Linked DNA regions of Homo sapiens: regions 1 and 2 are each linked to region 3. Evidence: promoter capture Hi-C in 16 types of primary human blood cells and fetal thymus (Javierre and others, 2016). All regions are on one chromosome and are shown on one strand. The core of a region is centred on a gene start or on the middle of the fragment in contact, and the rest is flanking DNA. Distances in the headings are between cores, read along the strand shown. Region 1 has its middle 550 kb from the start of HTR1A. Region 2 has its middle 550 kb from the start of LRRC70. Region 3 holds the start of HTR1A (5-hydroxytryptamine receptor 1A).

Region 1 (2,700 bases), core at 149-2,648, 550 kb after region 3:
GGAGCCTAGGTAATTCAAATTCAAAATTAAATTGAGAATTGCTGGACTTTGCAAGAAGAATTCCAAGGCTCCTTCTAGTATGAAAATTCTAGAATACAATTATTTAACTGAGAATAATTATCCTTTTGAACTACAATCATAGATTAATGATTTTATGGTCCCTTAACTAGCCAACTGTCTAACAGTAACAATAATAATACCTAATATTTTCTCAGGAGTTTACTCTGTGCCTGATACTCTAGCACATTAAATGTATTTTTGTATATTTTTAACAATCCCATGAAGTAGGGACTATTGTTATCCTCATTACAGAGATGAGAAAATTTAGAAATAAATGATAATGTGGCAAACACTATCAGAACACTTATTTTATGCCAGGCATTATTCTAATATTCTAAGATTCAAATACTTGAATATTGTTAGCCAGGTGTGGTAGCTCACATCTGTAATCCCAGCACTTTGAGAGGCTGAGGCAGGTGGATCACTTGAGGCCAGGGGTTTGAGACCAGGTTGCCCAACATGGCAAAACCGTATCTCTAGTAAAAATACAAAAAAAAAAAAAAAATTAGCCAGTCTTGGTGGTATGCTCCTGTATTCCCAGCTACTAGGGAGGCTGAGACATGAGAATCACTTGAACTTGGGAGGCAGAGGTTTCAGTGAGTGGAAATCGAACCACTGCACTTCAGCCTGGGTAGTAGAGTAAGACTGTCTTGGAAAAAATAAATCTTCAAAGATGATCTATTGTTAGAATTTAGTCTTATATTCCATATGTTACATATAGAATATATAATGTATATTTTATATATCTAATATATTATATAATTTACATGTAATATATAATGTATAATATATATTTTATATATTATGTATATAAAAATCTCACAACAACACTATGAGGATGGACTGTTATTATTCTCATTTTTACAGATGATGAATTAAAAATACATTAAATAACATGTATTAAGATTACATAGTAATTGGCAGATCTAGGATTAAAACCCCAGCAGTCTAGCTCCAGAAACCATGCTCTTAACCACTATCACAATACAGATATACATACCATCTCTCAGAAATGTTGGGTAACCATTTCAAGTTCATGTAGTTAGTAAGAGGGCATCACTAAAAGGAAGTATACACATCATTTGATTCCATAGCTCGTGTTCATAATTATTACACTATTAGAAATGCCTGGAAGCAACTGGTTCTACCTGATTGGTGGTAGCATGTGGGAAACTCAAGGGCATGACGTAGGAATGCCAGGTTTACTCAAGCTATATGTCAGAAACATAAACATTGGATGGAAAATATTATGTTCTCCTTTAAGTTCTCACATATCACCTTTTGAATTCTTTCACTCTTCTGTGTAGTTCTTCTTATTATGTGCAGCAATGAAAAATATGGCACAGGTGAATAAATTCATCTACAGTCTTCCTCTAATATTGAATGGTGCTGCATTATAAAAGGAAAAATTGGCTTTTATTGAGTGTCTACTACATGCCAAGCATCACACCTGTCTGTGGCAAATTTTTTAAAAATGCATTAATTCATGTCAAATAACAACGACAAACCTATTACATTACCCATAACATATTTTTATGAAAAGTGACAATATTTTCAAAAACAAAAAATTATTTGTATTCGTGAGAAAAGTGACATTGTTTTACATTTTTGCAAATCTTTTTAATGTCTAGCTTAGGTAAATTCAGCTGGATTCTCATGTCTGCCTCTATATTTAATCTGTTATACTGTCAGACATGTAGTAGCTGGAAAATTCAGTGTACACGTGGTGGAGTGGAAATAATTTTGATGCCGTTAGACCTCCTGAAAGAGTCTCAGGGTCCACCAGCGGCTCTCGGACTACACTTTGAGAGCTACTGTGAAAAATAAGAGATGTCAGTTATTCTCAAAAGAAATGCACTTCAACCACCATATAAAAGAAGTTTAAAACTCAGTGATTAAAACAAAAAAAAATTTTACTGGGCAAAGGATTTTAGTGGACCTTTCTGCAAAGAATGTATACAATAGGAGCATGAAAAGATATTCAACATTAGTTATTAGGCAAGTGCAATTTTAAAACCGCAATGAAATACCACTTCACACACACTAAGATAACTAAAATGGACAAGACAGACAACAAATGTTGGTGAGGATGTGAGGGAGTTGGAACCCTTATACATTGCTGGTAAGTTTACAAAATGGTAAAGCTGCTTTAGGAAACTATTTAGCAGGTCCTAAAAATAGTAAGCATAAAGACCAAACATCACATTCCTTGGTATATATTCAATAGAGACATATATTCATACAAAAACTTGTACACAGTATTTATGGCAGCATTATTTATAGGAGCCAAAAACTAGAAAGTATCCACATGTCCATCACCTAATGAATAAAAATATGTGTAATATCCAAACACTGCAATATTATTCAGTCATAAAAATGAATAAAGTGCTGGTGCATGCTGCTACATGGATGAACCTTGAAAACATTATTGTAAGTGAAATAATCCAATCACAAAAGTTATATACTGTATGATCCCATTCATATGAAATGTCCACAGAATAGGCAAATCCATAGAGGCAGATTTGTGATTGTCAGGAACTGGGAGAGGGGAGGAAGGGAGAGTAAGTGCTAATGTTTATTTCTTGGTTGATGAAAATGTTCTGGAATTGGTAGTAATGGTTGCACAACTTGTGAATGTAC
Region 2 (2,700 bases), core at 39-2,538, 840 kb after region 3:
GAAGTACCTACAAGAAAATGAACAATTACTTAAGATAAGTAAAGCAAGCTGATTTTTATTTTACTTCCGTTTTTCCAGATGTACTCAGTTTATGGAAGGAAAAGGTAAAGCTTTGACTTAAATTTTACAAGTGAATTATAGCTGTAGACAAAGCTATGTGCATCCAAGAAGTCCTCTTCTCTTAGGACAGTTTGCTTATTTATGGAATTGTGTCTCCCACCAAAAAATTCATTTGTTGAAGTTCTAACCCCTAAAACCTCAAAATGTACTTGCATTTGGAGATAGATACTTTAAAGAGGTAATTAAATTAACACGAGTTGATTAAATTGGACCTTAATCCAGTATAACTGATCCTTCTAAGAAAAGGAAATATGGGCACAGACACACTCATACCAGTGAAAGACAATGTGAAAACACCCATTTATAAGCCAAAAAGAGAGGACAGGAACAGGCCTGCATCTTTCCCTCATGGCCCTCAGAAGGAACCAGCCCTGCTGATGCCTTAACCTGGGACTTCTATTCTCCAGAACTGTGAACAAATACATTTCAGTTGTTTAAGCTCCCCAGTCTGTACTACCTTATTACAGCAGCCCTAGCAAATTAACATACCGCACTAAAGCATCTGAGCACTTTGGCCATGCTTCAGTAGGTTTTTCCTTCATTTGTTCCAGGTAATTGGAAAAGTCTGCCAATTTTTTGTATTTAGATTAACTAACAAGAAGGTGGAGGGTCTCCAACTTTTAAATGGAGGTGCTATTATGGGCAAACCAGTGGCCTTGGAGATAACTAGTCCCTCGGGCTGACTCACTGACTCCCCCACAAAATGCAGTCATCCCAGCCATTGATCTATCTCTTACAAAGGAAATATTTCTATAACAAGGCAATGACCTCTACTGGAAGCAGTGCAGAATTACAGAAATCCCAGTAAGTCTCAAGCTAGACAGAGACAGACAGAGAGACAGAGTGAGAGAGAGAGAGAGACAGAGAGAGAGAGAAACGGTTTTAAGTGTTAAGAAGAAATGACCCACATAGGAATTTTTAAGGGAGAATACTGTTACCCCCAACCACTAAAGAAATCTAAACTGAAAGGAAGTATAAAAGAATAAAAGTAGGGAAACTTTTAAATCACATGTTGCTGGTTGTTGCTGAGGGGAAGGTTGGGGAGAGGGAGGATCACACTGGCTGAGGAGCATCTCCACACTTGCACCTCAGAAGGATTCTAGCTCCTTCCTCAGGGAGTGGTCTACCAACTGCTCATCAGCAGAGGTGCCACCCAGCCCCCCAACCCCAGACTTCATGAGAATCTAAGTTTCAGGAAGTCTCCCCAGGGGTTCTGTAAACACATTAAAGTTTGAGAAGCACTGCCATCTCCCTCATTCAGAAAGAGTGACATTTCAATGGTGTCCTTAGTCCTCTTTAGCATTTCCCAGGGGTGGAAATGCAAATCAACAGAAAGAAGGCACCATACATGAAACACTCTAGGTTCTAAGTTCTAAGCTCACTTGTCTTCACTTAAGTACATATAACACAGCTACTCATAAAATAATACAGGTTGAATTAACAAATGTTTAATTCGCCATTGGTTTTTTTCCTTATAAAACCTTAAAACTAAACTAATGACAGCTTTGGAACTCTCTGATTTCTAGAGTTTTCCATGAAAATGCTGATCCTTCTAGTTCTGCTATTAATCATCCTTCTGTCAGGGAGGCAAGGAGTTTGAATTTTCACTCTCCTTAGTGAATATGTTTCACATACCAAAATTACTTCAGCAATTTGCTCAACAGCTTTAGAAGCCATTACTAAATTGCAGCTCAAATTCATTTCATCTGTTTTCTAAACTGGCTCTAAAATTTATCTTCACAAATTAGTCTAAAGCCTGGTAACAAGAATCAGCTATTTTTCTTCATCAGGAAAGACAGATTTTCTTGTAAATGCCCGCAACACCAGAGTACATTAATTTGTTTACAAATACAGTTTATTTCTGAAGGTGTTCTGGTGAATGTCTAACAACCAGCTCCCAAAAAATGGTTTGAATTTTTGTTATTTGCCAATTGCCATAGTGTAAATTTTCCCACCTTAACCAATTTCAAGATACTAACGTGATCATGGAGCTAGGAAAAGATGAACACAATTGCCTCCTGGCAATGCAAGTAGGTTGTAGCACACCATTATTTATTCTCAAAATACTACCAAATACCCCCCATTCTTCAGACAATTTCTGGTATTGATTTCAAAATATATGTCAGCATGCAATATATGTGCTGTACAACTGTACAAGCTAAATATTTACCAAAGTAAAACAGGCTTGAGATAAATTATTGGTTTTATTAATGACGTGATTATTTTATTATAACAGTAAAAAGGTTGTTCATCAAAAATTTGATGCAACTCTTTTTTGCTTATGAAACATTCATGAGAACAGATACAAAACAGCTGCTGACTCCAACACTGACTGTAATAAGCTTATTCTGCCCACACTTAGCTGCAGGAGCATTCTTCCATTATTTCATTAAGAAGGCTCAGTTTGTATTTGGTGTCCCTCTTATGTTTTTACATTTTATTTCCTTTGTATGTATGTGTCTGTACCCAAATTTCTTCTTATAAGGATCAGTTATATTGTATTAGGGCCCAATTTAATGAACTCATTTTAATTTAATTACCTTTTTAAAGTCCCTATCTCCAAATGCAATAGTAGTCTTC
Region 3 (2,700 bases), core at 3-2,502:
AAATGCAATACTATTCGTTTCTCCAACAAAAGGTAAATTTATGTCAGTTCCAAAGTTCAGGTTATGACAGCACAAAACCAACACAGGTGAAAGTGTTAGCCTAGCTTTATTAAAATGGCATTCCCAGTTAGAACTTGTGAATGACAGATACTTCAGGCTTTCGAAGGAAGCTAAAACATATAATAGGCCTGATATATAAGGTTCAGAGCAAAAGAGGGCACTAAAATAAATTTTTAAAGAAAATAGGAAGGAGACAAAACTCAATACTACCTTGTCTTTTAATAACTGTCTTCCTCTTTCTAAAAGTTGTTGTATTTCCTCAATACTTGCTTCATTTCTGCATAAGGGTTTCCAGATGGCACTCTAAAACATTTGCCAGAAGGTGGCGACATAAAACCTCATTGCTTAGAACTGTCCCAGGTGCTGAACCCAGTTTCTGAGATTAAGAGAGGCTAGCCGGCTAGCGAACCGGGATTCCACCAAGTTTCCCCCAGAGGTTTGCAGGCTCTGGTAAGAAGTGCAAAAGGCCATGTGAAATGCCAGGCTTCACTTAGAACACATATGCAAAATATTTCCATCCCTGAATTTACTAGCCACAAAGCTATGGGAAGTGGCAGTGTCACTGAAATTACAAGTGTAGTAGTGATGGAAAAGTGTGTGTGTGTTTAGAATATATATCACACTGAGTTTTGTTCTTCATTTCGAGATGCAGTTGTTTACCTCTCCTTGTCCTTTGACACGTCCTTTATAATTTCGTTCTCTCCCGGTTCCCCAACGTTAAAAAAAAAGTCACAGGCAATATTCTCCCTGAGGGAGTAAGGCTGGACTGTTAGATGATAACGGAGGTACCGTTTTGTTGTTGTTGTCGTCGTTGTTCGTTTGTTTTTGGAGACGGAGTCTCGCTCTGTCGCCCAGGCTGGAGTGCAATGGCGCGAGAACGGAGGTAGCTTTTTAAAAAGGAAGACACACTCGGTCTTCTTCCATCAATTAGCAATAATTGGGAGACTGACCCAGGACTGTTCACCTTCCCATTCAGGCTCCCTATGCTTCCTTTTCTCATCTCCTATTGCCACTCTGGGATGCTGACACGATTTAAGAATTTGGCAGATAATATGAGGCAAGGAGTAGTTGGAATTCCCTCCCCCAAGTTTTTCCAACCCCAGTTTTGCTGGGTTGGAGGCGGAGTTTATTTGTTACAACCTTGGTCTGACCGGCAGGGATCTGGTGTGTGTAAGTGAGTTCTGAGTCTCTGTTGACAAAAAGAGACTCGAATGCAAAGACGCTGAGCTAGAGGGAGAGGAGGGCGGGGACCCAGAGGAAAGAGGCACTCCTCGGGGTTGGGGAAGTATTAGGAGGGGAGGGTTAGAGTGGGAGGGAAGGAGCCTGGCTTTCGAAGCGACTCACAGAGGGATAAATAAAGGGAAGTGAGGAGGAAGAGGGAGACTGAAAGGGAAGGCAGGTGGGGAGAAGGGGGACGAAAGAGGCAGAAGAGAGAGAAGAGAGGAGGAGAGAGGGGGAGAGAGGGAAGGAAGGAAATAGGGAGAGGAGGGTCACAGAGTGACCGTGGAGGATGGGGCTTCTCGGTTCTAGATATTTCTGGGATTGGAGACTGTTTGCTAGTGGGGAGACTCCAGCTCCGGCAGCCAGTTCGGGAGCGGCAAAGTAAAATGGACAGCGACAGACAGACGTTCCAGCCACCTCTCCGCCGCCGGGAGATCCTGGAGCTGCTTTCAGGCCAACTCCAGTTTCCCAGCTGGAGCTTCTGAACGCGCTGGACTGCGAGAGCCCAGGGAGCGCCTGAAAGCTGCTCCTCGGAGATACCCTTCGCCGAAGCAGTAAGAACTTCCTGCTTGGGTCTCTGCATTCCCTTCCTCCGAAACTTCCCAGGAGAAGGGCGGAAGACCCCAGGGGAAGGGGCGAGGCGAATCTTCGCGCTGCTTTTTCTTCCCTCCCCCTTCCCGCGCCGGGCGCGCAGGCATGGATGTGCTCAGCCCTGGTCAGGGCAACAACACCACATCACCACCGGCTCCCTTTGAGACCGGCGGCAACACTACTGGTATCTCCGACGTGACCGTCAGCTACCAAGTGATCACCTCTCTGCTGCTGGGCACGCTCATCTTCTGCGCGGTGCTGGGCAATGCGTGCGTGGTGGCTGCCATCGCCTTGGAGCGCTCCCTGCAGAACGTGGCCAATTATCTTATTGGCTCTTTGGCGGTCACCGACCTCATGGTGTCGGTGTTGGTGCTGCCCATGGCCGCGCTGTATCAGGTGCTCAACAAGTGGACACTGGGCCAGGTAACCTGCGACCTGTTCATCGCCCTCGACGTGCTGTGCTGCACCTCATCCATCTTGCACCTGTGCGCCATCGCGCTGGACAGGTACTGGGCCATCACGGACCCCATCGACTACGTGAACAAGAGGACGCCCCGGCGCGCCGCTGCGCTCATCTCGCTCACTTGGCTTATTGGCTTCCTCATCTCTATCCCGCCCATGCTGGGCTGGCGCACCCCGGAAGACCGCTCGGACCCCGACGCATGCACCATTAGCAAGGATCATGGCTACACTATCTATTCCACCTTTGGAGCTTTCTACATCCCGCTGCTGCTCATGCTGGTTCTCTATGGGCGCATATTCCGAGCTGCGCGCTTCCGCATCCGCAAGACGGTCAAAAAGGTGGAGAAGACCGGAGCGGACACCCGC

What was found. Contacts are between HindIII fragments. The CHiCAGO score rates a contact against its expected background, and 5 or more counts as called.
Region 1: a fragment that was not itself captured here is called in contact with the fragment with the promoter of HTR1A in region 3 in 1 of 17 cell types (endothelial precursors); the score reaches 5.1 in endothelial precursors.
Region 2: a contact is called between a fragment that was not itself captured here and the fragment with the promoter of HTR1A in region 3, in 1 of 17 cell types (endothelial precursors). The highest score is 7.8, in endothelial precursors.

Annotation. Positions count from the first base shown.
Region 1 is chr5:63,410,650-63,413,349 of GRCh38, reverse strand. No RefSeq gene overlaps it. Among named protein-coding and RNA genes, the nearest start is that of HTR1A, 550 kb to the left of the region's middle. The HindIII fragment of the contact is 3,127 bases long and covers 1-2,700 here.
Region 2 is chr5:63,124,174-63,126,873 of GRCh38, reverse strand. No RefSeq gene overlaps it. Among named protein-coding and RNA genes, the nearest start is that of LRRC70, 550 kb to the right of the region's middle. RefSeq lists an enhancer at 1,093-1,643. The HindIII fragment of the contact is 2,352 bases long and covers 113-2,464 here.
Region 3 is chr5:63,960,997-63,963,696 of GRCh38, reverse strand. It overlaps HTR1A (5-hydroxytryptamine receptor 1A), which reads left to right and starts at 1,252. Exons shown (of 1, transcript NM_000524.4): 1 at 1,252-2,700. The coding sequence starts at 1,978. RefSeq lists an enhancer at 1,538-2,515. The HindIII fragment of the contact is 6,748 bases long and covers 1-2,700 here.